Regions from separate parts of the Homo sapiens genome. Here all the other regions are linked to region 1. The links are contacts of gene promoters, found by promoter capture Hi-C in human tissues and cell types (Jung and others, 2019). All regions are on one chromosome and are shown on one strand. Each heading gives the region's core, a stretch centred on a gene start or on the middle of the fragment in contact. The rest is flanking DNA. Distances are from core to core; before and after follow the strand shown. Region 1 holds the start of RANBP3L (RAN binding protein 3 like). Region 2 overlaps RANBP3L (RAN binding protein 3 like). Region 3 has its middle 46 kb from the start of RANBP3L.

Region 1 (2,700 bases), core at 170-2,669:
GAAATATACACTGAAATATTTATTAATGCAATGATGTCTGGATGCTTCAACTCCAGTGGTGTAATAAGGGGGAGAACAGCTATAATGAAACACATAGTTTTAAGACACGATTGTCTATGAGTTGATAATATTGAAGCCAAGTGATGAGTATGCAGGGCTTATTGTGCTATTCTCTCCTATTCATGTATTTTTAAATTTTTTCATCATAAAACATTTTAAATGTATTTCTCAAAAGGGCTGGCTTACAGTTTTGTAGGTTATTTAACTTACCTGTATAATAATATGCTTATTAGTGAGGTACATAACTTGATAGAATAACAATAACTTTACATATTCAGGAAAAATCACCTTGTCTCTCCACCATGGCTTTTGTGGAAGATGAGATGAATAGCAGACATTTAAAGTAGAAACTATGACTCTCCAATAACAAGACTCTCTTTCAAAGTAGCACAACACTTCTGTCATCTGTTACACTGTGATTAGCCTAAAACTGCAGTAGATAGACTACTGAAACAATTAAAGCATTCAAGAATTATAAAAGATCAATCACCTACTTCATAAAAATTTTCATAAACCAGACTATACTTGGGGAATTGTTAATTGCCTCAAAGTAAAATGAGGGCAGCCACCCAGATCTGGTTAGGAGGTAAATTCATTACAGTGTCAAGTTTAACACCAATTTCCAAATGCACATAAGAAGCTGCAGAGTCCAGACTTCGAGGCTAAACAGCTCTGCCTTTCTCCTTAGTCCTGCCCACTACCTTCTTTCTGAATCTGCGAAGAGCTGTGACTCTTGAAGGGCAGGACCTACCAGCATTCATTATGACTTCAGTTATGGCAAGCTCTCAAGTTAAATTAATGGTGTTTGGGGTTTATGTTTCCAAACAGTAAGGAAATAGCCAACGAGTAAAACTGGAAATTACTTTCTCCTATGACCTAGAAGTAGCAATAAGAACTCTAAGTGGGAAACAGAAATAGGACTCTGGAAAGATAATGTTTTGTGTGTTTATTTTTCTTCCAGAACTCCAAATAGTTGCCTTGGCAGGAAGGCTGCCCTCTAACTGCTCCCTTCCGAAGACTAGGAGGTGTTTACAGAAATTGAAAGTTCCAGCAGTACATTTCCATGAGCTCATTACCAGTTCCATTTATACCTTTTAGATTTCACATGCACAAATGAATGTCCTTGCAGTATAAACTCCTGCTTTCAGCTTGCATTTTAATTACAAACAAAGTAGCAGAAATCAGGTACTCAGTTACTGTAACATAAGGGCAGGGCATCTTTAGAATCTGTGCTTTGTTCACTATTATTCAAAGCAGCTCCAATGCCCGTCTTGCCTGCCTCTTTATGCTAATCATCCTAGCCCACTTTGCTCCTCCTCCTTCCAGAGTCCCTTAAGAACTGTACACTTTCAGCTGTCACAGAGGGTAACTCAGATCAGGCTTAGAAATCACTTGACTTAACTCAGCAGCACTTTTTCTTTTCTTTGTGTCTGTATTATTTTAGCAGCCTTCTCTAAATACTGGAGGCATTGGATTTCATGTCGCCAAAAGGAATTTAAAAATGACAAAAGTGTAATCTGTTAGAAATAGTTAATTTGTAGAATTTTACTCTATAAGGAGGTTTAGTTTCAATTTGTTTTGAAATGAAGGAATTAAGTTGTGTTTTTAACCAAATGAATTGGCATCTTTATATTTAGGAGAAGTAACATTGGTGATTATTTATTTCAAGAATCATGACTGGAAAAAGCTTGGAAGTTTAGTAGAGGAGTATATGTTGTACATGCAAAGACAAGATCTGCATGAATCTATGTATTTCTGGGTGTCTGGTGAAGGCCACTTTAGGTGACTGGCCAGAGAAGGAGGTGCCCTAGTGATCCTTGAGTCACAGCCATACTGCTAGGACCATGACTACCATACCAAGAAAAGGCAGCAGCCACCTGCCTGGCAGTTTGCACACCTGTAAACTGAAGCTGCAGGAGGACCGGCGACAGCAAGGTGAGTCCGTCCAGCTCATGAGTTGCATATTCTGTGACCTTCTGTGCATTTGCATTCCAGGAAGAATGGTGGGCTGGTGAAGGACCCGGGGAAGCTCTGACATAATAGTGATGCATAAGGGTGGGTTAACTTGGATTCACTATTGATTTTTAGAGGACTATGGAAGACTGTCAAGAATGCATATTCCTTGGAGCTGTCATTCTGAAACTTACATGCTTAAACTTCTAGCCACTGTGTTTTTTAGAGTATGCTAGATTTTGTCTAATTCAAAACACCCATCTGAGCAAGGCTGAGTCAGCTACAAGGGGGATTTCAGCTGAGAGTAGCTTTAAGTTAGCCTGGAGCTTTCTCTACCATAGTACCACTGGTGGGACACTTTTTTCACTTTGTTTAAGCCTAAGTTTGTCTGGATCTCTGGCTCATTCATTGTGGGAAAAATAAATATATTCTTGACTCTTTCCTTTTTATGGTCCAGGGACATCTGGAGACAGTCAGGGAAAAGTGTCACATTTCACTTGCTGGGCACTCATTCAAACTAAACTATCTACCTCCCAGCCATTTTCACCATCAGTCTTTTTAAATTTTCAAATCCACTCTCCAGCCAGCTGAGTTAGTGTCAGATGGTTGACATGAATAGACAAGATGATCCCTCCAATCCACCCTGTCAGGGACAGCAAATGACACTTGTGGGAAAGGCTGGGTCTC
Region 2 (2,700 bases), core at 38-2,537, 39 kb after region 1:
TTTCTCTACATCGCCAACTGGTCAACATCACAGTGTATCGTTGCCAGTTTAGGTCATACCAGAGGTTCATTTCAGAGCCAAATTCCAGTATAACAGGAGCAGAGAACTCCCTATACAGTGTAGTTGGGAGGGTTTGGGAAGCCTCTAGAGACAGATAAGAATTCTAACTTCCAACTATGTAGTGTCTGAATCACTCTTTGTAGGCCTTTCTAAACAGACAGTAACTTACACAAGCCGTGCAGATATGGGTTTGGGGATATATTCAATTGCTGTAGTGCTACCTGTCTTCCAGCAGAAGCAGACACAGGAGGAATAGGACTCAAGATAGGTAGGTTGGAATTTGAGAGTTATTCCATCTTAGCCATTTGTTTCCAGCTGAACTACTGAGGATTGGTCACATAGTTTCGCTTTGTTTTCCCTTAGTGAACATAAGGACAGAAACACGGAAGTGTAAAAAAATACCAGATTGGTACTAATCTTGCCTCTGCTGCTATCTTTGTTTATCTAAACAAAGCACCCATTCAACATCTTTTTATATCAGCAAAGTAAGGGACTTGAACTTGATCAGCACTTTCCAATATTTTTATATTCCTAAACTCTTTACTTTGTAAGATATTATTTGGAGAGATCCATTATGAATTTAAAAAATCATTTCATCATTTATGCATGCTATATAAGTAATTTTTAAGTAAAACATGTCTTCAATTTTAGATAAGTATATTATTGTTTTCACTTAAATATAATGTAATAATTATCACCATGTTACATAATTCCTTACTTTTATTTAAGAAGTGAAGTGGCCAGGCGTGGTGGCTCACTCTTTTAATCCTAGCACTTCGGGAGGCCGAGATGAGTGGATCTCTTGAGCTAAAACGTTCCAGACAAGCCTAGGCAATATAGTAAAACACTGTCTTTACAAAAAATACAAAAATTAGCTGGGCATGGTGGCATGTGCCTGTAGTCCTAGCTTGAACCCGGGAAGTGGAGGTTGCAGTGAACCGAGATGGTACCAGCCTGGTGACAGAGCCAGACTGTCTCAAAAAAGAAAAGAGAAAAAAGAAGTGATGCATGGTGTTTAACTTGTTTTAAATTATGTAATAGAAAGTATAATATGTTGACTAATTTCTAAAAAGTTATATTGCATTTGATTTTAAAATGGCATGCACTATAAATATAGAGCAAGATTTTAATTACATGTTATGACATCAAAAATACATCAATATTTCTTTCTTGGCAGAATTTTTGTAAATATTGCATTGCATATTTTAAAATAAAATTTATTAATATATTTCTTCCATTTTCTTCTTAAATGATCCAAGCTTAAGAGAAAATTTCAAGCTATTGTTTATATTTATTTTTGAATAAATTATAAGGTCTAGGGAATAAACCTTATTTCCAGTTATTGAAAAGCCCTACTGTATATGCCCATCATTAAAAAGAAAATTTAATGCCCATCATTAAATTTTCCATTTATTGATCTTTGAAGATCCAGAGACACACTGTATATAAGATCCTATGTAAGAATTTTGACCAAATGAATGTAATTTAAAGATTTTGTGAAAACTATCTCTAGGTGGATTTTGTAGAACCATTATCTTTATATTTCTTATTATCTTGTATATCAAAATCAGATAAATTATTTTCATCCTATCATTAATCAATGGTTACTTACTATGTATAGATTAAACAATATATGCCTAAATAACTATTTTAACCAACATAGGAGTGAAAACTACCATTTTGGCTGAGAGATACATTATCTGAATGACTAGGTAATGAGCATGTACTTCGATCTTTGCCAACCATGGCACATGCTCTCTTGATACATATTTGTCAGTTGTCAAACTCTTGTTAAAAAAGAAAAAGTACTCAAAATTATTTTTATTGATTGAAATAAAAATTTAAGTGGAAACATAACCCATCTGGCTTTAAAAGACACAAACGCCCTGAAACATCTTTGCAAATTCCTGGTCGAGGAAGGAATTGTAAATACTAGATCAGATAATGTATAGGGTTCCTTCCAATTCTAAATTTCCTCACTCTTACATTTATATATTAATTCAGGTATTGTGCATACACATATGTACATAAGGCAAAGTAACTGGATAAGTTACTAGTTGAAAATTTCAAGATAAATAGATGAGTGGGGTTTTCTCTCACATTGGGTGACTAGGATGGTGACATTCTTAGGGTGTTTCCCAGGATTAAATAGTCCTGAAAAGAGCTTTACTAATCCAGAAATGAGAATTAACCCAATTTGACTAAAATGGCAAAAATAAACAAAACATGGTGGGATTTCTGAATATTATGATATTCCGGTATTAGACAGATCGCCACTGTATGTGACCTGGGCAAATTATTTAAGTTTTTTGTGTCAGTTTACTCACCTGTAAAATGTGGACAATAGAATTACAAAGTGTTAGAGTTGTAAGGAGTAAATGAGATCGTACATAAAATGCTTAAGGCAGTACTTAAACATAGTAAGCTTTCAATATATTTAACTATAACTATTGTTTCCTTGTCTGATGGTCCTATAGTAAGGTAGTCTTTATAAACTTTTTGATGGATTTCTTTACTTTCAGATTTCTGAGGGAAATTCCTATTTGTTAAGTGAAAATTTATCAAGGGCTAGAATTTCAGTCCAGCTGTCTACTAACCAGGACTTTTTAGGTGCAACATCAGTAGGGTAAGTTAATGAGA
Region 3 (2,700 bases), core at 181-2,680, 46 kb before region 1:
CCTATATACTCAGATAAACAAAATGACTTATGTGTAGATACAAATATATTTTCCCTGTGTTTGGGACTGTGTTTGGGACCCTTAAGGATCTCAAAACTTGAGTGTGTATCAGAAATGCATAGGATGCTATTAAAATACAGATTTCCAGGTCTCAACCCCAGCAATTTTGAACCATATGATGTGAGGCCCAGACATAGGCATTTTAAAGAAACTCAGCAAATGATCCTAAGTTTGGTTAGAGTCTTATTTTAAGAAACATTCTTGGCTGGGCGCGGTGGCTCACGCCTGTAATCCCAGCACTTTGGGAGGCCGAGGTGGGCGGATCACGAGGTCAGGAGATCGAGACCATACTGGCTAACACGGTGAAACCCCATCTCTACTAAAAATACAAAAAATTAGCCGGGCGAGGTGGCGGGCACCTGTAGTCCCAGCTACTCGGGAGGCTGAGGCAGGAGAATGGCGTGAACCCGGGAGGCGGAGCCTGCAGTGAGCCGAGATCGCGCCACTGCACTCCAACCTGGGCGACAGCGAGACTCCGTCTCAAAAAAAAAAAAAAAAAAAAAAAAAAAGAAACATTCTTTATTATAGCATACTTCTAAAAATAACAACAATAATAATAATATACACCCCAGACCTTAGCCTAATGATATTTATTTTCATTCATCAGTAAAATATGACTTCAGGCTGAGTCCTGGGTGGAGAGAGGTGGCTAGAATTTCTTAAATCCTTAAATACTGTCTGAATTGGTCATGTTCTGGAATGAAAACTGGGTAAGTCTGCAGGTTGATTTAAGTGGTCAACTTGGGGAAGAGGGGAGCCAATGAAAGTATGATAAGGAGTCAGATGGAGACTTCCTTAAGGAGAATTCTACATGCCTGTCAGGGCTTTTTGGTGAGGTTGCTGTCACTGTTTATTAATTTTAGCTAATTTTATTTCAAAACACAGATTTTATTTGGGCTTTAAAATGTTTTATTCATACTACTCTAATGTTTAAAAGCCATCAGTAGGTGAAATGAAATGAAATCAAGAGGGAAGTGAAGAATAAAAGAGAAAGGAAAGAAGTTTTTCTCCAGTAAACAGGTAAGGGCTGGTTTAAAGAAAGAAAGGTAAAACACGCTTAAAGAGAATCTGCCTGGAATCAGTTTATGAGCGCTGCAGCCCAGCTTGTCTCTGTTGTGGTCCCTACCCTGTGAGATGAAAACAGTGTTACAAAAGTGAGACACCAGCTGAAGTCCCAGCAAAAGCTTGTCTGCCACTCTAGTCCTAAGGAACCTGGATCCTTCCACTCCACAAGGCTCCCTACTACGGACTGAATGCTGTGTCACCCACACCCTAACTTCATATGTTGAGGCCTAATCCCCAGGGCGATGGCATTTGGAGGTGGGGCTTTGGGGAGATATTACTTTTAAAAATTGCTAAAACCGAAATTACTTTTGCAACAACCTAATAATTACATCATGGCAGTGAGAAGACTGCCATCTGCAAGCCAGGAAGCAGGCCCTCGACAGACATTAAATCTGCCAGCACCTTGATCTTGGATTTCCCAGTCTGCAGAACTGTGATAAATAAGTGTTTGTTGTTTAAGTCACCCAGTTTATGGTGTGTGTGTTATAGCAGCTCAAATGGACTAATACAGTCCCTAGGACAGAACTGAGTACATATGAACCCCTTCCTAATGTATGGTTGATTATTTACATTACTTCACACTCATCATCTAAAGAAAGCTCCAAAGAGCAGGGACTTTGTCTGCTTACTGCTGTATCCTTAATTTTTAAAAATTGCCCAAAGATGTAGTTCTTGATGTTTTGAATAAAAGATTATATAAACAGCAAATCCAACATCTCAGGAGCTCACAGCCAGGAAGAAAGATGTTGTTTCAAGCAACGGGCAGTGAGTTCTGACAGAGACAGCTGGAAAAATATGAAAAAGACCATGCTTTTCTGGTAAGCTTTATTTTTCTTATCTCTAGTATAAACATACTTAATTTGGTAAAGAAAAACTGAATTCTAGCAACTTATAAATTATATGCCGGCATGTACAAGTCTAAAGAGCCAAAGTCATTGTAATATATGCTAAGGGCAAAGGGAAATAGTCAATAGCTTTGTTAGAATGTCTTCAGGTCTTTGAGTTTGGACAAGGTAAACCTCAATATAATAATATTTTCTGAAAAGTGAACTTCACAAAACAAATGACAAAGCAATGATTCATTCATATACTTCACATTCAGAGTTTATTTACAATTGAATATGTTGACATTACCTCTGCTAGAATGGCTTTTTAGACTTCTTTGAGAGGTCTGTGAGAAACCTGTTTAGATGAAATGAGAATTTATGCGGTCAAAAATATTTTTAAGGCCTGAAGACACCCTTGATGCAGCCCCTTTCCTTCATCACTAAAATGTATCTCTGTACTTCCTGCTTCTGGTCAACAGCCAGAGAAAGATGGGGCAAAAGGTGTTGCCCCAGCACAAGCAGAAGGCAGTCAGTAATTGAAGCTGTGTAAAATGCATGTTCTGCCTTACAGTCTTTCTTAGTTTAATATTTAGAATCCAGGGCATTACATTTTCCTGATAACAACAGCAAAATGGGCGTTTTATACAGGCTTGCAGCTAATCTTATTAAAATGAGACAAAGGCAAAATTTCCACCTATTTTTCCTGGAAAAGAAAATACCTGGAGAAACTGTACTTAAAGATGTAATG

Evidence for each region. The method cuts DNA at HindIII sites, captures the fragments that hold promoters and counts their contacts. A contact is called where the count stands out against the background at its distance.
Region 2: a fragment that was not itself captured here is called in contact with the fragment with the promoter of RANBP3L in region 1 in 3 of the 25 tissues and cell types used here (dorsolateral prefrontal cortex, hippocampus and liver).
Region 3: a contact is called between a fragment that was not itself captured here and the fragment with the promoter of RANBP3L in region 1, in 1 of the 25 tissues and cell types used here (hippocampus).

The regions. Positions count from the first base shown.
Region 1 is chr5:36,300,621-36,303,320 of GRCh38, reverse strand. It overlaps RANBP3L (RAN binding protein 3 like), which reads left to right and starts at 1,419. Exons shown (of 14, transcript NM_145000.5): 1 at 1,419-1,995. The coding sequence starts at 1,905. All of the region lies in intron 1 of LOC124900962 (a long non-coding RNA gene), which reads right to left. The HindIII fragment of the contact is 10,640 bases long and covers 1-2,700 here.
Region 2 is chr5:36,261,925-36,264,624 of GRCh38, reverse strand. RANBP3L (RAN binding protein 3 like) reads left to right here. Exons shown (of 14, transcript NM_145000.5): 7 at 2,583-2,686. The region is part of intron 1 of LOC124900962 (a long non-coding RNA gene); the gene reads right to left. Among named protein-coding and RNA genes, the nearest start is that of NADK2, 21 kb to the right of the region's middle. The HindIII fragment of the contact is 4,445 bases long and covers 1-2,700 here.
Region 3 is chr5:36,346,303-36,349,002 of GRCh38, reverse strand. It overlaps a transcript of LOC124900962 not described here. Among named protein-coding and RNA genes, the nearest start is that of RANBP3L, 46 kb to the right of the region's middle. The HindIII fragment of the contact is 4,153 bases long and covers 1-2,700 here.